Linked DNA regions of Homo sapiens: regions 1, 2 and 4 are each linked to region 3. The links are contacts of gene promoters, found by promoter capture Hi-C in human tissues and cell types (Jung and others, 2019). All regions are on one chromosome and are shown on one strand. Each heading gives the region's core, a stretch centred on a gene start or on the middle of the fragment in contact. The rest is flanking DNA. Distances are from core to core; before and after follow the strand shown. Region 1 holds the start of LIN7B (lin-7 cell polarity scaffold B). Region 2 holds the start of LOC105372432 (a long non-coding RNA gene). Region 3 holds the start of IRF3 (interferon regulatory factor 3). Region 4 holds the start of SNRNP70 (small nuclear ribonucleoprotein U1 subunit 70).

Evidence for each region. The method cuts DNA at HindIII sites, captures the fragments that hold promoters and counts their contacts. A contact is called where the count stands out against the background at its distance.
Region 1: a contact is called between the fragment with the promoter of LIN7B here and the fragment with the promoter of IRF3 in region 3, in 6 of the 25 tissues and cell types used here (adrenal gland, bladder, dorsolateral prefrontal cortex and 3 more).
Region 2: a contact is called between a fragment that was not itself captured here and the fragment with the promoter of IRF3 in region 3, in 1 of the 25 tissues and cell types used here (pancreas).
Region 4: the fragment with the promoter of SNRNP70 here is called in contact with the fragment with the promoter of IRF3 in region 3 in 1 of the 25 tissues and cell types used here (dorsolateral prefrontal cortex).

The regions. Positions count from the first base shown.
Region 1 is chr19:49,111,512-49,117,300 of GRCh38, reverse strand. LIN7B (lin-7 cell polarity scaffold B) reads right to left here and starts at 2,931. Exons shown (of 6, transcript NM_022165.3): 1 at 2,860-2,931; 2 at 2,334-2,452; 3 at 1,970-2,041; 4 at 829-1,038. The coding sequence starts at 2,896. RefSeq lists a silencer at 2,532-3,111. The HindIII fragment of the contact is 18,984 bases long and covers 1-5,789 here.
Region 2 is chr19:48,804,187-48,809,785 of GRCh38, reverse strand. It overlaps BCAT2 (branched chain amino acid transaminase 2), which reads left to right. Exons shown (of 11, transcript NM_001190.4): 2 at 2,712-2,786; 3 at 3,069-3,269. LOC105372432 (a long non-coding RNA gene) reads right to left here and starts at 2,417. Exons shown (of 3, transcript XR_936017.4): 1 at 2,387-2,417; 2 at 1,687-1,817. RefSeq lists an enhancer at 2,623-3,294. The HindIII fragment of the contact is 4,226 bases long and covers 1,025-5,250 here.
Region 3 is chr19:49,661,123-49,667,108 of GRCh38, reverse strand. It overlaps IRF3 (interferon regulatory factor 3), which reads left to right and starts at 1,252. Exons shown (of 8, transcript NM_001571.6): 1 at 1,252-1,478; 2 at 2,263-2,435; 3 at 3,595-3,766; 4 at 3,851-3,921; 5 at 4,492-4,684; 6 at 4,781-5,161. The coding sequence starts at 2,271. BCL2L12 (BCL2 like 12) reads right to left here and starts at 1,176. Exons shown (of 7, transcript NM_138639.2): 1 at 1,042-1,176; 2 at 310-424; 3 at 1-90. The coding sequence starts at 416. RefSeq lists silencers at 1,004-1,083, 1,124-1,273. The HindIII fragment of the contact is 43,433 bases long and covers 1-5,986 here.
Region 4 is chr19:49,080,865-49,086,717 of GRCh38, reverse strand. It overlaps SNRNP70 (small nuclear ribonucleoprotein U1 subunit 70), which reads right to left and starts at 1,267. Exons shown (of 10, transcript NM_003089.6): 1 at 1,082-1,267; 2 at 157-313. The coding sequence starts at 303. It also overlaps the pseudogene RN7SL708P. RefSeq lists enhancers at 1,082-1,171, 1,522-1,591. The HindIII fragment of the contact is 18,802 bases long and covers 1-5,853 here.

The DNA.
Region 1 (5,789 bases), core at 1,682-4,181, 550 kb after region 3:
GTTATGCTTCCCTCAACTCTAACCACAGTGAGTTTTGTTTTTTTTTTTTTTTTTTGAGAGGGAGTCTCACTCTGTCACCCACGCTGGAGTGCAGTGGTGCTATCTCAGCTCACTGCAACCTCTGCCTCCCAGGTTCAAGCGATTCTCCTGCCTCACCCTCCCAAGTAGCTGGGATTACAGGTGCCTGCCACCACACCTGGCTAATTTTTGTATTTTTAGTAGAGATGGGATTTCACCATGTTGGCCAGGCTGGTCTTGAACTCCTGACCTCAAGTGATCCACGTGCCTCAGCCTCCCAAAGTGCTGGGATTACAGGTGTGAGCCACCGCACCCAGCCTAACCACAGTGATTTTAATTACCTGCATGCCCCAGACCTCCATCAGAACTAAGCCCTTTCTTTTCAGCTCAGAGGTATGCCAAGTCAGTATCCTTATCTACAGTACCCTCAGCAGGAACACCCTGTACCTTGTTTGCCTGGAGAACTCCTACTCATCCTTTAACACCCAACCCAAATGTTCCTTACTCTGCAAAACCTTCCTGTATCTATGCTGGCCTGGTGCCACATCTGGGCTGTCACAATACTTTGCACTTCCTCATTATTATGTCTCTGGATTAGGACTATTTCAGCCGGGGCCTACTGCCCTCCCCAGAGAGAGAAGGTTGAGTGTAGGGAGCTGAGGCCAACATCTCTCAGAGTCTGTAACATTGCCCAGCACAGGGCTAGCCATACAGACAACACTCAGTGTGTGTTGAGTGAATGTCAAAAGCAGGGGCTATGCTACGTTAGACAGACTGTGTCCCCCAGTCCTGCCTCAGCCCTCCACTCACCACACCGTTCACCGACAACAGTTGATCCCCACGCTTGAGGCCTCCATGGCGGTCAGCCACACCCCCTGGGATGACCCGGGAGATGTAGATGGGCGAGTTTTGCTCTTTGCCACCCATGATGTTGAAGCCTAGGCCCTCATCCGTCTTGGGTAGCTCCACTACCCTGGGATGTGCGTGGCCCTCGCTGGCTGTGAAGGCAGCCACTGTGGCCTGGGAGAGAGAAAGCGACTGAAGATGAGGGCCCCTTCCAGGTAGGCATGAAAGCTGGGGTGGGGGATGTGGACCGAGGACAGCGATTTAGCCTGGGTTACTATCCCCAAGCATGGGACACTTGTCATGGCACAATGCACGATCCCCCTGTAATGACTGTGCGTCTCTTTCTGTTCACTTGCAAGAGAAAGTGTCCATTTGGTGTGTGTCTTGAATACCCCATACTTGCCAATCTTACTTTTTTTTTTTTTTTGAGATGAAGTCTCACTCTGTTGCCCAGGCTGGAGTGCAATGGCATGATCTCGGCTCACTGCAACCTCGGCCTCCTGGGTTCAAGCGATTCTCCTGTCTCAGCCTCCGGAGTTGTAATCCAGCTGGGATTACAGGCACTCGCCACCACGCTCGGCTTTTTCTTTCTTTTTTTTTTTTTTTGTATTTCTGTGGAGACGGGGTTTCACCATGTTGGCCAGGCTGGTCTCGAACTCCTGACCTCAACTGATCCACCTGCCTCGGCCTCCCAAAGTGTTGGGATTACAGGCGTGAGCCACCGTGCCTGGCCTCAATCTTACTTTTAAACAGAGGAAAGCCAGGCCTGGAGGGAGATCTGAGCCTCCGGACAGCAGCAAGAGGTAGCAGCATCTAACTATTGTGCAGTGAGAGGTCAGAGCGCCATGAGTTTCCTGGTTTGCACTGTACAGATGTTGAAGGTTATCTTCTACCAACCATGCCATACTGTTTCCATTTGCAGTTGCTAAAGATGCCTTAGTATGACATTTAAGTTAAAAATGTGCGATTATTTACTAATAGTAAGGTGGCACATAGATTTAGCAAAAATCATGAGGGAGGAAACAGAAATGACTGGCATGAAGGAGATATTGAGTTCGACTAGGCAGTTAAATAGACACCAGGAGCAATGGGGTGCGGGGCCCACCTTGGCTGTGGCATGGGCTCGGATCTCGGCGCTGCCGGTGATGTCCAGCGTGTCATAAAGCTGCTCATACACCTGGGTGAGGAGGCAGCGGCATCAGGGAGTCGCCAGCTCCTCCAGCCCTAGACGCAGGAGTTCAGGCCTCTAGACCCTCTCCCGCTACCACGCAAGGATCCGCCCCGCCCCCGCAACAGAAGGCCGAGAAAACTACAACTCCCGAAGAACCCCTGAGCTGAAGCGTTGGCACCCCAAGGCGGGCCGCCTCGGGAGCTGCCGGGAGGCGTAGTCTCCGGGCTCGGGACAAGCAGGAGGAGGAGGAGGAGGACGACGGCCACCAGCTCGCGCCCCTGCGCCGCGCGCCCCTCACCTCTCGGATAGCGGAGCAGAAGCGGCTCTGCAGAACTCGCTGGAGGGCCTGCAGCTTCTGCGGCGGCAGCTCCCCGCTGCGCTGGAGCCGCTCGAGGAGCTCAACCGCCCGGGACACGTCTGCGGGGCGGGGGCGGGGCGCAGAAACCCCGAGTGTCAGAGACCCCGAGACGCAGAGAAGCAAGGAGAGCGGCGGAGTGAGGCCGAGCGCACAGTCCGGGGAGGACGGCCGAAGCCTAGTCGGACACCCCGCAGAGTCCAGGGTGGCGCAGGAGAGACTGCCACCAGCGGCCCTGCGGCCCCGGGACCCCTCCACAGGCCGGGTTGTAAGGCGGGCGCCCAGCGTCCCGGCCCGCGCCCAGGGAGCCTCCCACACCTAGCGACCGCCCGGCCCCGGCGCCCGCCCCGCCCACCCCCTCCGGGTCCGCTGGCCCACCCGCACTGGCCTGACCCGGGAAGGGCGGGGACCGGGGGCTGGGTATGTAGGCCGCGGCCCGGGTGGGCAGGGCCCCCTGGCGCACGCTTACCCCGCTCCAGCCCCAGCGGCTCCACCAGCGCAGCCATGTCGGCGCCACAGCTGCCAGCCGCCCGCCTGCCCTGGCGCCGGCGAGGAGGGCGGGGCTGCGCGAGGCCACGCCCCGGGCCACGGGCGCCCCCTGCGGAGGCGCAGCCTGGAGAGCGCCCAGCTCTCCCTCGCCCGACTGCTCCGACCACCTGCCGCGCGCCAGCCGCGCCCTGCCCTCCGCCCCGGCCAGTCGGTCCTGTTGGCGACCCCTCCCACTGCAGGTTCGGTCTGTGTGTACCTTTCAGGATCCGTGTCTGCCTGCCCTCCACACCCGTCTATCCCCTGTCCATCCTTTCCCCACATTCATTCAACAAACTCTTGTGAAACATCTGAGCCCAAGTCATGGACACCGTGGTGAGCAGGACAGCCAAGCCCACGGCCCGAACGAAGCTTCCAGTCTATAGGGGAGGTAGACGACCAACTACGGCTGTGATGAGAGCTGAGAGTGGGGAGGTGATGATCTAGAAAACGAAGGAAATCCTAGAGGAGGGACATTGACATACAGTCCTGGGAGGTAAGATGAACAAGAGGTGGAGCTTGGGTCACCCCCACCACCCAGAAAGAGCCCACGTGGCTGGAAGCAGAGTTAGGATTGGTTGATGATGAGGTGAAAAGGTCGGCAGGATAGTTTATGCCTGGGCTCCTGCGTTGGCATATGCGCCTTGAGGATTTGGGGCTTCATGCAAACTCCTAAGAGAAAAATATGACACTCAAATTTGTATTATTATTATATTATTATTATTATTATTTTTGAGACGGAGCCTCGCTCTGTCGCCCAGGTTGGGCCTCAAATTTGTATTTTAAGATCACTGGGGCCGGGCACGGTGGCTCACACCTGTAATCCTAGCGCTTTGGGAGGCTGCAGCAAGACTACTTGAGCCCAGGAGTTCAAGACCAGCATAGGCAATATAGTGAGACCTCGTATCTATTGAAAAAAAAAAAATCACTGTAGCCACTGTGGAGACTGGTTTGGACAAGAACAAGAGGAGAAGCAGCGGGGCAACTTACGAGGCTACCACAGCCATCCAGGTGGCAGCTAGCACCAGGGCCAAAGCACAGAAGATGGGTGGGCAGATGTGGGAAATGTCTAGACAAGCCTTGGTGCTTGGCTATATAAGGGGATTGGGAGGTGCAGGAGAAGACAGTATTAAGGTGCTTTGGTGCCATTTTTAAGATGGTCTACACTGAAAGAGGGATACTGGATATTTTGTTTTTGAGACACAGTCTTCCCTCTGTTGCCCAGTCTCGAGTGCAGTGGCGTGATCTCGGCTCATTGCAACCTCTGCCTCCCGGGTGCAAGCAATTCTCCTGCCTCAGCCTCCTGAGTAGCTGAGAGTACAGGTGTGCACCTCCACACCTGCCAAATTTTTGTATTTTTCATAGAGATGGGGTTTCACCATGATGGCCAGGCTGGTCTCGAACTCCTGACCTCAAGTGATCCACCTGCCTCAGCCTCCCAAAGTGCTGGGATTACAGGCGCGAGCCACCTTGCCTGGCCGATACTGGATATTTTGAATTTGAGGAGCCTATGCAGAATCCATGGGGAGAAACTATCGATCTAGGTCTAGGGCTCAAAAGAGCAACCTGGTCTGCAGGCATGTTTGAATATTGGGGCATAGGTGGTAAATAAAACCACCGGAGTGGATAAGAATGTCAGGGGCAAGCGAATATTAAGACGGCCTAGAACTGGTCCCCAGACCTCTCTAACACTTAAAAGTCAGGAGGACAGCAGAGAATGGCCTGAAATGTAGGCAGAAACCCAGGTGGGAGAAACCATGAGAAGAGGGGTTTTTAAATTTTATCTTCTTTTTTTGTTTGTTTTAGATGGAGGGGTCTTTGTTGCTCAGGCTGGTCTTGAACTCCTGGGCTCAAACAATCCCCCTGCCTTGGCCTCCCAAAGTGCTGAGTTTACAGGCACGAACCGCTGTGTCTGGCTGCGAGTGTTTTTAAAAAGAAGTGTGGCTGGGCATGGTGGCTCACGCCTGGAATCCCAGCACTTTGGGGGGCCGAGGCGGGTGGATCGCCTGAGGTCAGGAGACCAGCCTGACCACATGGAGAAACCCTGTCTGTACTAAAAATACAAAAGTAGCCAGGCATGGTGGTGCATGCCTGTAATCCCAACTACTGGGGAGGCTGAGGCAGGAGAACTGCTTGAACCCAAGAGGCGGAGGTTGCGGTGAGCGGAGATCATGCCATTGCATTCCAGCTTTGGGAAAAACAGCGAAACTCCGTCTCAAACAAACAAACAAACAAAAAAAGTGAGGCCAGGTGTGGTGGTCACGCCTGTAAGCATTTTGGGAGGCTGAGGCGGGCGGATCACCTGAGGTCAGGAGTTTGAGACCAGCCTGGCCAACTTCATGAAACCCCATCTCTCCTAAAAATACAAAAAATTAGCTGGGCGTGGTGGCGGGTGCCTGTAATCCCAGCTATTTGGGAGGCTGAGGCAGGAGAATAGCTTGAACCCAGGAGGTGGAGGTTGTAGTGAGCCGAGATCGTGCCATTACACTCCAGCCTGGGAAATAAGAGCGAAACTCCATCTTGGAAAATTAAATAAATAAATAAAAAATAAAAAAAGGAAGTGGTCAGTGGTATCATGCTCTAGAGAGGCCGAGGAGATGTGGACAAGACTTTGGAGAAAGTTGGCTGCTCTTCTGGTTCTGCTGGGTGGCGATATGGAGTCCAGAAAAGTGCTTGTTCCAAGTGGGAGGACTAGAGCAGGTTTGTCTGGCTGTCTCCTTCACTGTAGCTCTCTCTTTAGCAAAAAGTAATGTCTTTATGGGATTAAAAACAAAATCAAATAACACAGACAGGCTAATAATAGTGAAAAGCACCAGCCTCTACCTCTCCTAACTCTACTCACTGTGAGAGGGAACTTACAGATGTTTAGTCTGA
Region 2 (5,599 bases), core at 1,888-4,387, 860 kb after region 3:
GATTTTTTTTTTTTTTTTAATTTCAGACCTGGTGAATAGGAAATAAGCCCTGATATTTGGCAGAGACAATGCTGGTTATAATGGGGAAAAGTGCTGGGCTTTGGATAGGGGACATTCCTGAGCTGTTTGGGACAGTACTTGGCTCTGCTGGGGACCAGTTCTGATAAGTTACAGGCACAATCTGGACTTGTGATGTGGAGCATCTTGGGCCATCATAGAACAGCCCTGGTCTGTGATGGGGGAGAGTCCTGGGCTATAAAGGGGGCAGTTCTAGACGTGATGGGGTCATGTGTGGGCTGTGACAAGGGCAGACTGCGGTATGATGGGGTCTCTCCGGGGCCGTGATATGGGGACAGTCCTGGAGTATGGAGGGCACTGCTGGGCTTTGACAGTGACACTCCTGGTCTTTGATGGTGATACTCCTGGGCTGTATGGGACATAATGGAGGTTCTATCACATTATAGAGACCTGCCCTGTGAACCCCCAAACGTACTTTATTTCTTTGTCTCGTCTTTTCTTTTTGACCGAGTCTTGCTCTGTTGCTCAGGCTGGAGTGCCGTGGCACGATCTCGGCTCACTGTAACCTCCGCCTCATGGGTTCAAGTGACTGTGGTGCCTCAGCCTCCCGAGTAGATGGGCTCAAGCGATCCACCTGCCTCAGATTACAGGCATGAGCCACCATGCTGGTCTTTTTTTTTTTTTTTTTTTTTTTTTTTTTTGAGAGACACTCTATCACTCATGCTGGAGTGTAGCAGTGTGATCGTAGCTCACCACAGCCTTGACCAGTAGGTCAAGGTGATCCTCCCACCTTAGCCTTCTGAGTAACTGGAATTACAGGTGTGTGCCACCATACCTGGCTAATTTTTAAATTGTTTGTAGAGACAGGGTCTTGCTATATTGCCCAGGCTGATCTTGAACTCCTGGCCTCATGCAGTCCTCCCACCTCTGTCTCCTAAAGTGCTGTGATTACAGGCATGAGCTACTGAGCCAGCTGCCTACTTTCTTTCTTTGTTTTTTTTCTTTTTAATTGAGACAGAGAGTCTTGCTCTGTCGCCCAGGCTGGAGTGCAGTGGCACCATCTCGGCTCACTGCAACCTCCGCCTCCTGGGTTTAAGCAATTCTCCTGCCTCAGCTTCCCAAGTTGCTGGGACTACAGGCGCCCGCCACCACACCCAGCTAACTTGTATTTTCTGTAGAGACAGGGTCTCCCTATGTTGCCCAGGCTGGTCTTGAACACCTGGCCTCAAGCTATCCTCCTGCCTCGGCCTCCCACAGTGCTGGGATTACAGGCGCGAGCCACTGCGTGTGGCCTCTTTCTATGATTAGATCTATTTTGGCATCTCTTGTTTCTTGGCGTCAATTTCTGTTTTTGTTTTTTTTTTTTTCTGTTTGTGCGCCCCTTTCTGTGTTTCTTTTTCTCATCCTTCCTCTTCCATCTCTTACTCTCTTTTTTTCATCTTGGCTCTGAGGGCAGCTCTCCTGCCCACAGGCTGGCTGTCGCACTGTGTTTGTGTCTCTCATACTGTGGGTGTCCTATCCCTCTGGGCAGAAGCATGGCTGCAAGGCTGAGCAGTCTAGATGTCGCCACCCAAAGGCAATCTGGGGACCCACGCTCTGATCACCCCGGAATCCCTGGAGCCTCACACCAGCAAGACCACGCTGCAGGCCCATCTCCCAGCAACTCACCTAGCGACAAGTGACCACGCCCATTCACGTCCATCTTCCAGAATCAGTGCCAACTCACCCAGCTCACAGGGCAGGCCAGGCCAGGCCACTCTGTCTCTCTCAACCTCACGCCCCAACGCCTCCCCACAGGGCTGGGGAAAGAGGCCTTGTGAGGTCAAAGGTCACCAGAGAGGGCCCAGCCTGCTGGACACAGCCAGACCTGCTCTTCCTACTCCCCTCTGGGAGGACCCGCCTGAGCCTCATGCAGTGAGGACTGCAGTGGCTCCCCAGGCCCCTGTAGCTGCCCCTCAGCCCCAGGGGCTGAAGGGAATTGGAGTCACTGCCAAAATGGGTTTGTATTTCAGGTAATCAGAGCCCAGTTGATCGAATACCTTCAGAGAATAAGCACCTGTACTCCTGGGTCTGGCGGAGGAGGGGCTGGGGAACTGGACTCCTGGGTCTGAGGGAGGAGGGGTGGGGCCTGTACTCCTGGATGTAAGGGAGGAGGGTCTGAGGCCTGGACTCCAGGGTCTGAGGGAGGAGGGGCTGGGGGCCCAGACTTCGGGTCTGAGGGAGGAGGCAGCTAGAGTCTGGACTCTTACTTAGGTCTGAGGGAGGCGGGCCTGGGGTCTGCACCCCTGAGCTCTGGGGGAGCAGGACCTGTCGGTCCTTGGTCTTCTAAGGCCTGTCAGCACTTGGGTACCCGGAGGCCTTCACTTACCTGTGTGCCTTCCCTGGTTGTTTTCTTGTCTGAGCTGATCTCCAGGCTGCGACCAAAGGTCTCTGGGGTGGGAGGCGCTTGCGTTTGACTTTGCCGCAGCATGGAGGAGGGGGCGGGAGCTGACTCAGCTCTTTCCAGCGAGCCCTCGTCAGGGCAGGGAGGGGACTTGGCCTCCTTCAGGACCACCTGCCCCGTCTAGAATGGACTGAAACTGGGACAGAACAGGCAGGCCAGTGGGACCTCCAAGTGCAGGAGGTGGCGAGCGAGCTGCCAGGGCCCCTGCTGTGCCCCACTCACCCCCTCTCTCACTTCTTTCTCCACCCAGATCTGGGCACGAAAGCTTCTCTCTGTCCCTTGGCTTCTGTGTGGTCCCAGAAGATATGCCTCCTCCAGTTTCAAGGTGAAAGGAGGGAACTCGATGCTTGGCTCTGAGAGAGGAGGGGGCTGGCAGCTGGTTTTGGGCATCTCCAAAAGGTCCACAGCCCAGAGATGGCAGTGAGTGGTGGTAGCTTAACAGCCTGCCATTGGGCCGCAGACAAGGGATGAAACTGCATGTCCCAGAATCCTCCAGGGTGACAGGTCCTTCTTCTCTATGGGTCTGAGGCCCAGGGCTTCATGGGAGTTGTAGTTTTTCAGCTGGGAGGTTGTGGCCAGATTCTAGGATACCCCTGTCTTTCCTCAGGCTGCAGACCTGCAGCTGGAAATGACACAGAAGCCTCATAAGAAGCCTGGCCCCGGCGAGCCCCTGGTGTTTGGGAAGACATTTACCGACCACATGCTGATGGTGGAATGGAATGACAAGGGCTGGGGCCAGCCCCGAATCCAGCCCTTCCAGAACCTCACGCTGCACCCAGCCTCCTCCAGCCTCCACTACTCCCTGCAGGTGGCATGGCGGCCGGCCTCTCTCCCTGTCCCTGTCTGCATCTCCTCCTCCTTGCTGTGTCTCTTGCCAGGTGTACCTCTCTTGGTTTGTTTGTTGTGTGTTTCTCCTTTCTGTGCATTCACCATTTGTTTTCTGAGGCCTTCCATGCTCCAGGCTCATGCTTGGTGATGCTGGGTTCCCCGAGATGAGCAGACCCGGTTCCTTCACTTGGAAAACCCCATGCTGTGGGCATAACTCAGTATGATCTGTGCTCTGATGGAGGCCCTGTGGAGGCCAGTAGAGACCCCCAGCCTCACTTGAAAGAAAGCATGGCTTCTTCTGGCATAGAGGGAAGCTTAGAGGGGGATGGTGGGAGAGGTGACAGGGTGATGGTAGGAAAGGGGACAGCCGGGGGGCTGGCGGGAGAGGGACAGCCAGGATGATCGCGGGAGAGGGGACAGCCATTGGGGGGGGAGATGGTGGGGGAGGGCACAGCCAGGGGGATGGCTGGAGAGGGGACAGCCAGGGGAGGGATGGCGGGAGAGGGGACAGTCAGGGGAGGGATGGCGGGAGAGGGGACAGCCAGGGGAGGGATGGCGGGAGAGGGGACAGCCAGGGGAGGGATGGCGGGAGAGGGGACAGCCAGGGGAGGGATGGCGGGAGAGGGGACAGCCAGGGGAGGCATGGTGGGAGAGGGGACAGCCAGGGGAGGGATGGCGGGAGACGGACAGCCGGGGGAGGGATGGCGGGAGACGGACAGCCGGGGGAGGGATGGCAGGAGAGGGACAGCCGGGGGAGGGATGGCGGGAGAGGGACAGCCGGGGAAGTGATGGTGGGAGAGGGCCAGCCGGGGGAGGGATGGCAGGAGAGGAGACAGCCCAGGGGGGATGGCGGGAGAGGGGACAGTTGGAGATGGCGGGAAGGGGGACAGTCGGTGGGGGATGGCAGGAGTGGAGACAGCCAATCCAAACCCCAAACGGGAGTAGAGCCTGGTACATTTGGGAGAAATTGCGGTGTTGGAGCATGGTTAAGGAGGCTGAAAATGTCAGGGCCATGGAGGAGCTGAGGGGCTGGGGCCTTGTCCAAGGGTGCTGGGAGCCACTGAGGGCTCTGAGGAAGGGAGGGGCAGGGCCATGTCTGGGTATAGTAAGAGCCCTCTCAGGCCATGTGGAGGGCAAGAGTTGCAGGCTAGGAAGCCGGGCTGGTGACCAGGTAGACCTTGGGCCTGTCCCCACATGGGGACCCAGGAGGAGGAGCGGCTTTGTGGCACCTGGTGAGCCTGAGATACTGTGAAGTTTCTAGGAGACAGATCCAGGAGGCATTTGGTTTTAGGACTTATAGCTGCGGCTGAAAGCAAGGTCTTCAGAAGGAAACTTTGGTTGAGACAAGATTTAAGTGAGCATCTTACAGCTCCAGTAACTGGTTAGCAGGTTGGCTGATTTTAGTCCTCCAGGGCACAGTTCTGTGGCATGAAGACTTTTATTCCATTCCTTTCTTTCCTTTCCCTCCCTCCCTCTGTTTTTTCCTTTCTTCCTTCCTTTCCAGAATTTTAAGGTTTTGTTTTTTCCCCTCTCCCCTCCCACTCTGGACATCTAAGCAACACCAGTCGATTCTGTACAGAGCACACACACCTCCAATCACAGCCAGACACTCCTGCCAGTACATAAGCGTGATGGGCAGGATTCCGCCTGCTGAGCCCCCAGGAAGCTGGTTACTTGGAGACCACCACACACTTCTCCCTTCAGCCCAGCACAGCAGTTGTCCTCTGGCTGGGGACCCAGTACTTTTTCTTCAGCTGAGTGAGAGCAGAGGAAGCCTGTGGCCCTGGCAGACAGAACGCACTGCTGTGATCCCGCGGGTCCAGGGGGCGGAAGGGGGAGGATGAGGGAGTAGGACAATGCTGTCCCTATGTCACCCACACTCCAGGGCATGTGTGGATTGCAGGCCGACCACGTGTATTATTTTTTATTTTATTTTTTCTTATTTATTTATTTAGAGACAGAGTCTCACTCTGTCCCCCAGGTTGGAGTGCAATGATACAATCTCGCTCACTGCAACCTCCGCCTCCCGGGTTCAAGTGATTCTCCTGCCTCAGCCTCCCCAGTAGCTGGGATTACAGGCGCCCGCCACCACACCCGGCTAATTTTTGTATTTTTAGTAAAGCCAGGGTTTCACCATGTTGGCCAGGCTGTTTTCGAACTCCTGGCCTCAAGTGATCTGCCCACCTCAGCCTCCCAAAGTGCTGGGATTGCAGGCGTGAGCCACCATGCCTGGCCTTATTTTTTATTATTGTGGTACTAATACGCATACATAATAACACACAGCATCAAATGTGGGATTCCAACCATTTT
Region 3 (5,986 bases), core at 3-2,502:
TCAGAGGGGGCTGCTCCTCGCCCCAGGGAGCAGGGAAGACATCTTCGAAGGCGGCTCAGGAAGTCTGTTGGCTCTTCTTGGGCAGGGCTTCTGGAGAGGAGGACTTCAGAGACTGACCCCACCAGAGATCCCCTGCAAGCAGTCTCTTTCCCCAACTCCCTCCCTCCCCCGCTGAGGACCTCTCTCCAAAACCCCAAAGACAGAGAATAGAGCCAGATATAAAGAGAGGAGACAGACTGAGACCAGGAGCAAGAGTTAGGAGGGAGCCTCAAATGCTGGCCCCTGGGGGAGAAGGGCCACTCCTCTTACCTAGGTGGAGTTGGAACAGGAGACCCGGCAGCCTCACCACGCCTAAGGAAGGCAGCTAGGACCCTCAGCGTGTCTTCCCGGAGCCCCAGCTCTTCAGAGCCTGCCATGGAGGCACCTGTGAGAGAGAGGGTTAGGGACTGGACTCCAAGGGTTTAGCAAGAAGTGGAGGCTTGGGGACCAGGACTTGTGAGTCCCAAGGAAGGTGCTGAGGGCCTGGACTCCTGGGTCCTTTGGAGAGTGTGGGTCTGGGGGCCTAGACTCTTGAGTCCTCAGACGAAAAAGCGATCAGGAAAAAGACTCTTCGATCCAAGGAAAGGTGGTGGGGCTGGGTGCCCAGATTCGTGGGTCTAAAGGAGGAGGGAGCTGGGGTCCTGGACTTCTGAGTCTTAGAGAAAAAGGAACTGGAGCCCCAGACCCTTAGGTCTCCCAGGAAGAAGAGGCTTAGCGCCCCAACTCCTGGATTCTATAAGAGGCATATGCCAAACTCCTGAAACCCTTAAAGCATCGGGAACTACCAATCCCAAGAGGTTTCAGGGCAAATCTTCCCCTAGGTCCGCGCTTCTTCGCCGCGCAGCCTGCTGTGAGGTGTAGTTCCAAATCTCCGACCCCTGCTGGAATCTAGAGGACCCTGGACCCTTGGATATCAGAGAAGCGGGACTGGGGTGCCCACCACTGGATCCCGGCCCCCTCCTCTTCCCTCCTCACCCCACCCCTCGTCAACACCCCGCTGACCTGGTCCGGGGCCCCACCGCCGCCTCCTCCACTCAACTTGCGGTCTCCTCCACTGAACTCGTACAAACTTTATTAGTTCAACTTTCCCGCGCCTGCGCACTGGGCCGGGTCGATAACCGGCCCAGCGTAGAAAGGGCGGAACGCTGGGTGCACGCTCAATTTGCATGTGACGCTCCCAGCATGCCTCTGGCCGGAAACCCAAAAAAGGGCATAGGGGCGGGAACAGCCCAGCGGGCCGTCCCATCGGCTTTTGGGTCTGTTACCCAAAGAATGATAAAGTTGGTTTTATTTCAAGAAGTCGATCAAAAAGAAAGCCCCAGCGCTCTAGAGCTCAGCTGACGGGAAAGGGGGTGCGCAGCCTCGAGTTTGAGAGCTACCCGGAGCTCCAAGACAGGGGTGGGTTCCAGCTGCCCGCACGCCCCGACCTTCCATCGTAGGTAACGCGGAAGAGCCCGGGAGAGCGTTGGTGGCGTCCGAGAGCGAGGAGCGGGAAAGAGGATGGGTCTGCACGGAGAGTGGAAAGGCAGGCTGTGTACTCTGGGGAAAGTGGAGCAAGGAAGGAGCTACAGTGGCCGACGCTGGAGGTCGGCTGCAGAAAAACTAGAAAAAGTAGGGAGGAAAGAGGAAAAGAGGAGGCGTCTACACTGAGGGGGTTCTAGAGAGGGAGGGGTGGACTCCGTAGATGGGGGTAGTTCAGTCTCGAAACCTGGGGCGTGCTCTGTCCTGGAGGAGGGAGGCGGGCAGTCGGAGGGGAATTGAATGGAAGTTCTGTGTTGGAAATGTTTTGGGAGATCTTCTGTAGGGGGACTGTGGAAGGGGGTCTACATTGGGGTAAGTGCAGGAGGTAGAGGCTTACACGTGAATCGATTCTGCACTGAAATAACTAGGGAAAGAGGATGCTACCCTGAAAGTGGGGATACTTACTTTCGATGATGTGGGGGAGGGAGGAGGTCTATACTGGCGGAATTGAGGGAGTGGAGGGTCTGCACTGAAGACGCTGGGGAAGGATGTGCCATGGATATGGGAAGGAACCCTAGCTGATTAGAGAGCCTCTCGGGAGGATGGGAGGATGGGAAGAGGAGGTTTCCTGTTTGTACCCCCGAAAATATGGGTGAAGGACCTGTGCCGTGGCCCGTGAGAAGGAGGTCTGGGTGCGGAAACTCCAGGCCAGGTGGGTCCGGGGGAGGCCGGTCGCGCCCAGGAAATGCCCTATACGCGCAGGCCGGACCATGGGAACCCCAAAGCCACGGATCCTGCCCTGGCTGGTGTCGCAGCTGGACCTGGGGCAACTGGAGGGCGTGGCCTGGGTGAACAAGAGCCGCACGCGCTTCCGCATCCCTTGGAAGCACGGCCTACGGCAGGATGCACAGCAGGAGGATTTCGGAATCTTCCAGGTGCGTGCGACGACCTGGGACGCTGGAAACCCGGAGCTGCGCGCTGGGCGGAAAGGACTCCTAGTGGGCCCGGCTGAGAAGGCGGAGGTGGCGCGCGAGGGGCGGGCTCGTGCCAACGCTGGTGGGTGGGGCTAGAACGGGAGGGGCGGGGCTAGCCGGATCCGCTGACTGATGGTGGGGCGCAAGCAGGGTTGGAGCTGCAGGGTTACGGGAATAAAACCGGGAAAGCCGGTTAGTACGCAAAGGAAATGCATCCTGGGGGTTTGGGGCTTTCTAGAGGCCGGGGCTCTTGGTTGTAGGATAGATACTGGGGGATGGTTCTTGAAACATCAGAGGTGAGGCCTGGAGCCCCAAATCTGAGGTTCCTAACTACCGAATTAGTATATGCCAGAGGTGGTAAACAGTGTGAGGGGCGGGGTTATCACAGAGGGTGTCGCGGGGCAGGTGGTGCACGGGATTAGACACCAAGTTGGACTTGGAAGCCTGGCTTAGAAAGAAAAGGTTTTTGGGCCGGGGGCGGTGGTTCACACCTGTAATCCTAGCACTTTGCAAGGCCAAGGCGGGAGGATCGCTTGAGCCCAGGAGTTTGAGGCCAGCTTGGGCAACATAGGCTCCATCTCTTTAAAAACAAAAGCGAAACAAAACAAAAACCAAAGAGGTTTCAAAGGCTTTTGAAGAGGCCGAGCACAGTAGCTCATGCCTGTAATCCCAGCACTTTGGGAGGCCGAGGAGGACGGATCACCTGAGGTCAGGAGTTCAAGACCAGCCTGGCCAACATGGTGAAACCCCATCTCTACTAAAAATACAAAAATTAGCCAGGTGTAGTGGTGCCCACCTGTAATCCCAGCTACTCAGGAGGCTGAGACAGGAGAATCGCTTGAACCGGGGAGGCGGAAGTTGCAGTGAGCTGAGATTGCACCATTGCATTCCAGCCTGGGTGACAGGAGTGAAACTCCATCTCAAAAAGAAAAAAAGCCTTTTGAAAACTAGAGGTGGGGGATGGAGGTAGGTGGGACGGGGGGATTTGGGGATGGACCTTGCAGAGTTAGAACTTGCCAGGGAAAGAGGGTGGTGTTAGGACTCGGGAGACAGGGTTAGGGCCCCAGGAGCAGGATCTAAGTCGTCCTCCCCCACCATCCTGACACCACTGTTGCCCCAGGCCTGGGCCGAGGCCACTGGTGCATATGTTCCCGGGAGGGATAAGCCAGACCTGCCAACCTGGAAGAGGAATTTCCGCTCTGCCCTCAACCGCAAAGAAGGGTTGCGTTTAGCAGAGGACCGGAGCAAGGACCCTCACGACCCACATAAAATCTACGAGTTTGTGAACTCAGGTCTGCCAGCTTGGGGTTCGTGTGGGAGGCTGGGGCCCCAAGGGTTCCTGGCACTCCTACTCCCCTCACCACTTTTCTCAACAGGAGTTGGGGACTTTTCCCAGCCAGACACCTCTCCGGACACCAATGGTGGAGGCAGTACTTCTGATACCCAGGTGAGAATGTGCCCAACTTTCATGCCCCTCAGTCTCCGACCTGTCTCCATGGGCCTTGTCCTCTCCCTCTAGACGATCCCCCCACTCCCCTGCCTCCAGCCTGCCCCTCACCTGAGCCAGTGCTGACCCTGTCTGTCCCTGCCCCGGTCTCCTCAGGAGAAAATTCCAAGTCTTCACCCAGCATTCAAGGCCCGAGCACACCTTCCCGGGATTTCATGGATTTCGATTCGCAGGGGGCTGTCAGCCTCTTGGGAACTGAAAAACTCCCTCACCTTGATCCTGCTGAGGCCCAAGCTGGGGGAGCATCCCCTCTGAAATTCTACCCAGCCTGCTTTGCCCAGGTCTTACCTGCATAGAGCCAGATCCTTGGGTTGGAATGGTAGCACCTGGCGTTCATTAGTGTTTGTTTGGCTGTTGATGCCATGGCTGGCTCTGTCCCCAGGCTGGAAGCCCCTTGAAGGCAGAGCTCAAGCCTGACCTCCCTGCGTTGCTGAGAACAGACCTGGTCCATATGAAGTCTCCAGAAAAGGATATGGAAATGCCTGATTCTCTTTTTTTGTTTCCCTCCAGGAAGACATTCTGGATGAGTTACTGGGTAACATGGTGTTGGCCCCACTCCCAGATCCGGGACCCCCAAGCCTGGCTGTAGCCCCTGAGCCCTGCCCTCAGCCCCTGCGGAGCCCCAGCTTGGACAATCCCACTCCCTTCCCAAACCTGGGGCCCTCTGAGAACCCACTGAAGCGGCTGTTGGTGCCGGGGGAAGGTGAGTGTCAGCTGCAGGCTGGGAGGGCTGAGGTCTGGGCGGCAGCCCCTGATTCTCAACCCCTCTCCCCTTCATGCCGCTGCTGCCGCTGCTCAGAGTGGGAGTTCGAGGTGACAGCCTTCTACCGGGGCCGCCAAGTCTTCCAGCAGACCATCTCCTGCCCGGAGGGCCTGCGGCTGGTGGGGTCCGAAGTGGGAGACAGGACGCTGCCTGGATGGCCAGTCACACTGCCAGACCCTGGCATGTCCCTGACAGACAGGGGAGTGATGAGCTACGTGAGGCATGTGCTGAGCTGCCTGGGTGGGGGACTGGCTCTCTGGCGGGCCGGGCAGTGGCTCTGGGCCCAGCGGCTGGGGCACTGCCACACATACTGGGCAGTGAGCGAGGAGCTGCTCCCCAACAGCGGGCATGGGCCTGATGGCGAGGTCCCCAAGGACAAGGAAGGAGGCGTGTTTGACCTGGGGCCCTTCATTGTAGGTGAGTGAGACAGGGGCTTCGACCTGGCCAGTACAAAGCAGCCTGCACAGTGGTTAACAACTCAGGATTGGCCGGGCACGGTGGCTCACGCCTGTAGTCCCAGCACTTTGGGAGGCTGAGGTGGGCAGATGACAAGTTCAGGAGTTCGAGACCAGCCTGGTCAACATAGTGAAACCCCATCTCTACTAAAGATACAAAAAAATAGTCGGGCGTGGTGGCACGTGCCTGTAATCCCAGCTACTCGGGAGGCTGAGGCAGGAGAATTGCTTGAACCCAGGAGGCGGAGATTGCAGTGAGCTGAGATCGCACCACTGCACTCTAGCCTGGTGACAGAGTAAGACTCCATCTCGAACAACAAAAAAAAAAGAACTCATGATTAGGACTGAATTCAGACGCTGGCTGCCCTTGGCCCGCTGTATAACCGAGGCAAAGGACTTTGCCCTGAGCCCGTGGAATCCAAGGATGGTCTCCTCTCTCTACCTGCCTGCCAGCGCTGGGGTGAGACACAGGCCCAGTACACAGAGCCTGCTCAGGGAATTAGCTGCCACTGTCATCATCATCGTAACTAATGATGGTGAACAGACCAATAGCAGGAAAGCTACATCCCTTAGGGTTTCGCTGTGCAGTGGCACTTTCTGCCATGATGGAAATGACAGTCACCTGCACTGTCCGGTGCAGCAGCCACTAGCCACAGGGGCCAAGCACTCAGGTGAGGCGAGTGCAACCAGGACGTGATTCGTTTTAATTGGTTACAATTTAAACTGAAATAACCTTACATGACTAATGGCTGCAATTGGACAATGCAGCCTCAGACAGGACTGAATG
Region 4 (5,853 bases), core at 18-2,517, 580 kb after region 3:
CTCCAACCCCATTTAAAACAGAGAAACTGAGGATCACAAAGGTTAAGCCCCTCGCTTAAATCACGCAGCTGGCAAAATGGCCAGAAGCTGGACTCGCAAATCCAACCCGTTGCTCCCCAGAACCCAAACCATTCCTGGCCTGCTCAGTGAACTCACCTCAAACTCTCGAATGTACGGCGCAATGCCACAATAAGGTTGATTGTGGTGTTTTTCATGTGGCAGTTTCTCCAGGGGTGGCAGGTATGGAATAGGGTCACGGGGGGCAAAGAGGGCCAGAAGGTTGGGCGGCAGGAACTGGGTCATCTTGCCAAGTCTGAGAGCAGAAGCAGGACAGCCTTAGGTTAGATCGGGTCTGCACAGAGAAAGCCCCTGTTACTCCTTGACTCTCAAAATAAGAAAGACAGGAGAAAAGTCTCGGAATTAAAACAGGCTCTGTAAGGGCAGAGAACAGTCCTGTGTTGCGGAGAAAAGGGTACGTCTTGGTGGGGGTGGAGGTGAAAGGCCGGTAAAGAAAACAAAAATAACGGCTGGAAAAGGGTTCCTGAAGAGTGAAGTCTCAGAGTCCTCTGACACGAGCTGTGGGGCGGAGAGGTTCCCTGGGAATTTCTGGGGAAATCAAGGACCCGAGGAGGGAGGCCCAGAGCAGCTGTGGCTGCTCGTCCCGTGCCGTGGAGGGCAAATTACGAGATGCAGTTTGCAGGGTCCTGGGGATCGGAAGTTTCCAAGCAAAGAAAGAGAAACATAAGGAGCGAAGCCCCAAAACCAAGTGCTTGTGGGTAACAGACCTGGACCCCGCAAAAAGCGAAAGGAATTATGGGTAAGGGTCCAGGACAACATAGACAAACGAAAAAGAAAAAAGGCCACACACCGCAAGGGCCTGTGGGTAGGGAACCACGAGGGCGCTGTGGGAAGCGGGCGTGGGTGCCCAGAGATTTCGGGGTCCGGGAAAGGGATGCAGAAGGGACCTGTGGCGGGGACGCGGGAAAGGGGCCTGGCCGCGGGGAAGAGGACCGGGCCCACCGCTGGGGCTTCTGGGTAGCGGCCCCGCACCCCGTCGGGCCACTCAGTCACACTCACTCACCGCGTAGCGCCCTCCTCGCTCTGGCGTCTGTCCGGAGGCTCGCGGCGGCTGCGGCAGCCCCTCAGCAACAACAACTCCTGCTTCGGCTTCCACTCCGGGGGCGTCCACGTCCGTCTGATTCCGTCGCCCGCTAAGCGAGCGCACCAGGCCGCTGCTCAGCCACCCGCGCGGCCTCCGATAGCGACTGGAGCAGGGGGTGGGTCCCGGCCGCAAATCCCTCCGCCGTCCTCACTGCGCACGCGCCGTGCGGTGCCAACAACAACCCACACACTAGGACCCGGCGCTGCCGCGGGCACAGCGCACGCGCGAGGTCACTACCCCGCCTTTGGGCACCTTGAGTACCTCAGCCGCGGGGGGCTGGCTTCTGCACTGCGCGCGCGCGCTTGCCCCAAGCCGCCCCTCCACCTCCCGCTTTCCGCGCCGAACCGCCTATGTCCGCGAGACTCTCCCTGATGCTCCGCCCCTTTCCGATCACACTTCCCGGATCTTTCGCGCATGCGTTTTGCGTAGAGAACTGTAACGTACCTCTCCGCCGCCTAGCAAAGAGTCCCTAGGTGAACAGCCTGATTGCGTTGATGTCTAATCTATTCAATCAATAACTATTCATCGAGCATCTCGTGTGTGCTAGGCACTGTCTGGGCTTTGGGGGTACAGCACGTGATTAAAGCAAAGTCTTCTGCTGCTAGGGCTTACATTGTACTGGGAGAGACAATAAAAGCATTTAACTGAATAAAGATAATTTGAGGCCAGGCGCGGTGGATCACGCCTGTAATCCCAGAACTTTTGGGAGGCTGAGGCGGGCAGATCACCTGAGGTCAGGAGTGTGAGACCAACCTGACCAACATGGTGAAAGCCCGTCTCTACTAAAAATACAAAAATTAGCCGGGCGTGGCCGTGCGCGCCTGTAAGCCCGGTTACTCTGGAGGCTGAGGCGGGAGAATCGCTTGAACTCGGGAGGCGGAGGTTGCAGTGAGCCGAGGTCGTGCCATTGCACTCCAGCCTGGGCGACAGAGCGACTCCGTCTCAAAAGTAAATAAATAAATAAATAATAAAAGATAATTTGAGATAGTGGCCAGCATAATGAAGAACGATGGAGCAGAATAAAGGGATGGGAAGTGAGAGCGAGGCTGTTTTAGAAAGGGTGATAATGGAAGGCCCCTCTGAAGAGGTAACATTTGAATAAAGGACAGATAGAAGCGAGATCTGGGGTGGGGCCGGGGGGGCGGTGTTTAACAGTAAGTGCAAAGGTCCTGAACTGAGACCAGATGGCAGGAATCTCAGGTTGTTGGCCATGAGATCAGAGAGCTGGCACTTGTTATTTAGAGCCCTGTTCTTAAGTATTGTATCTTAAGTTTTGTGGATGGATTCAATAGCCTGTTTAATAACTACAGAAATTATTGCAAATTAAAATGACTAATTTTATGTTTCAAGAAAAAGGCCGAGTGCAGTGCTCACGCCTGTAATCCCAGCACTTTGGGAGGCCAAGGCGGGCAGATCACCTGAGGTCAATAGTTCGAGACCAGACTGATCAACATGGAGAAACCCCGTCTCTACTAAAAATACAAAATTAGCTGGGCATGGTGGCACATGCCTATAATCCCAGCTACTTGAGAGGCTGAGGCAGGAGAATCACTTGAACCTGGGAGGCAGAGGTTGTGGTGAGCCAAGATGGCACCATTGCACTCCAGCCTGGGAGACAAGAGCAAAACTCCGTCTCAAATAAAAAAAAGAAGTGGGAGGATCGTTTGAGCCGAGAAAGTTGAGGCTGCAGTGAGCCAAGATTGTGCCACTAGACTCCAGCCTGGGCGACAGAGCGAGACTCCGTCTCAAAAAAAAAAAAAAAAAAAGAAAGAAAAGGGCTGGGTGTGGTGGCTCACACCTGTAATCCCAGCACTTTGGGAGGCCGAGGTGGGCGGATCACCTGAGGTCAGGAGTTCGAGACCAGCCTGGCCAACATGGTGAAATCCCATCTCTACTAAAAATACAAAAATTAGCTGGGAGTGGTGGCACGCACCTGTAATTCCAGCTACCTGGGAAGCTGAGGCAGGAGAATTGCTTGAACCCGGGAGGCAGAGATTGCACGACTGCACTCCAGCCTGGGCAACAGAGTGAGAATCTGTCTCAAAAAAACAAATAAAATAGGCCGGGTGTGGTGGCTCACACCTGTAATCCCAGCACTTTGGGAGGCCAAGGTAGGAGGATCCCTGAGATCAGGAGTTCAAGACCAGCCTGGGCAACATGGCGAAACCCCTTCTCTACTAAAAATACAAAAATTAGCTGGACATGGTGGCATGCACCTGTAATCCCAGCTACTTTGAAGGCTAAGGCAGGAGAATCGCTTGAATCTGGGAGGTGGAGGTTGCAGTGAGCTGAGACTGTGCAACTGCACTCCAGCCTGGACAGAGCAAGACTCTATCTCAAAAAATAATAATGATGGCTGGGCACGGTGGCTCACACCTGTAATCCTGGCACTTTGGGAGGCTGAGGCAGGCAGATCATGAGGTCAAGAGATCGAGACCATCCTGGCCAACATGGTGAAACCCTGTCTCTACTAAAAATACAAAAATTAGCTGGGTATGGTGGCACGTGCCTGTTGTCCCAGCTACTTGGGAGGCTGAGGCAGGAGAATTGCTTGAACCCAGGAAGCAGAGGTTGCGGTGAGCCAGGATCGTGCCACTATACTCCAGCGTGGCAACAGAGCGAGACTTTGTCTCAAAACAACAACAATAAAAATAAAATAATAATAATAATAAAATAAAAGGGAGAAATCTGCCAAAGGAAAGGGACAATAGGCTTAACAGAAGTCTGAAACACAGCAGAGAAGACATTAAACTTTAAAGCTCTAGCCTGGCACAGTGGCTCACACCTGTCATCTCAGCACTTTGGGAGGCCGAGGTGGATGGATCACGAGGTCAGGAGTTCAAGACCAGCCTGGCCAAGATGGTGAAACCTCATCTCTACTAAAAATACAAAAATTAGCCAGGTGTGGTGGCAGGTGCCTGTAATCCCAGCTACTCAGGAGGCTGAGACAGAAGAATTGCTTGAACTCGGGAGGCGAAGGTTGTCGTGAGCCAAGATTGCACCACTACACTCCAGCCTGAGCAACAGAGAAAGACTCTGTCTCAAAACAAAAACAAAAACAAAAAAAAACTTTAAAGCTCCAAAATAATCCCTGATTCCATGTTCTGCATCCAAGGCACACTGGTGCAAGGAGTGGGCTCCCAAAGTCTTGGGCAGCAAAGTCCAGCCCCAATGTCTCCTCACACAGGTTGGAGTTTAGTGCCTGCAGCTGTTGTAGGCTCAGGGTGCAATCTGCTGGCAGACCTGTCACTCTGGGATCTAGAGAGGAGGGGTCCCCTTCTCACAGCTCCACTAGGCAGCGCCCTGGTGGGGACTCTATGTTAGGCCTCCAACCCCACCTTTCCCCCTTGGCACTGTCCTAGTAGAGGCTCTCTGTAGGGACTCCAACCATGCAGCCGACTTCTGCCTGGACACCCAGGCTTTCCTACACATCCTCTGAAATCCAGGTGGGAGCTGCTAAGCTTCCTTCACTCTTGCATTCTGTGCACCTGCAGGCTTAATCCCACATGAAAGCTGCCAAAGTTTATGGCTTGCACCCTCTGGAGTGGTGGCCCAAGCTGTACTTGGGACCCTGTGTGTCATGGCTGGTGATCGAACAGCAGGGATGCAGGGGAGCAGTGTCCCCAGGCTGAGCAGGAGACAGGGCCCTGGATCTGGCCCAGTAAACCACTCTTTCCTTATATGCCTCAGAGCCTGTGATGGGGGAGGCTGTTTTGAAGACTCCTGAAATGCCTTCAAGGCCTTTTTCCCATTGTCTTGGATGTTAGCACTTGGCTTCCTTTTAGTCACGCAACCTCTCCAGCAAGGCAATACAGCCTGCTTCTATTTCTCTCCTAAAAAATGCTCTTCCCTTCTCTACCACATTGCCAGGTTGTGACTTTTCTAAACTTTTATGCTGTGCTTCCTATTTATTGATTGATTTTTCAGAGACAGGGTCTCACTGTGTCACTCAGGCTCATGTGCAGTGGCTATTCATAGGCATGATCCCACTCCTGATCAACATGGGAGTTTTGACCTGATCCATTTCCAGCCTAGGTCAGTTCAACCCCTGCTAGGCAACCTGGTAGTCTCCCACGCATGGGAGGTTACCATATTGAAGCCAAACTTAGTATGGACACCTAATCAGCATAACACACTACAGCCCAGAACTTCCTGGGCTCAAACAATCCTTCTGCCTCAGCCTCCAAGTAGCTGGGACTACAGGCATGTGCCACAGAGCCTGGCTGCCTCTCTTTATTTATTTATTTATTTAAGACAGAGTCTTGCTCTGCCACCCAGGCTGGAGTGCAGTGGCGCAATCTCGATTCACTGCAAGCTCCGCCTCCCAGGTTCATGTCATTCTCCTGCCACAGCCTCCTGGGTAGCTGGGACTACAGGCGCCTGCCACCACACTCGGCTAATTTTTTGTATTTTTAGTAGAGACGGGGCTTCACTGTGTTAGCCAAGATGGTCTTGATCTCCTGACCTCGTGATCCGCCTGTCTTGGCCTCCCAAAGTGCTGGGATTACAGGCGTGAGCCACCGCACCTGGTCCAGAACATCCCTTTTTAAGAATGAAAACTTGCCAGGCACGGTGGCTTACGCCTGTAATCCCAGCACTTTGGAAGGCCGAGGTGGGTGGATCACCTGAGATCAGGAGTTCAAGACCAGCCTGGCCAACACAGTGAAACCCTATCTCTACTAAAAATACAA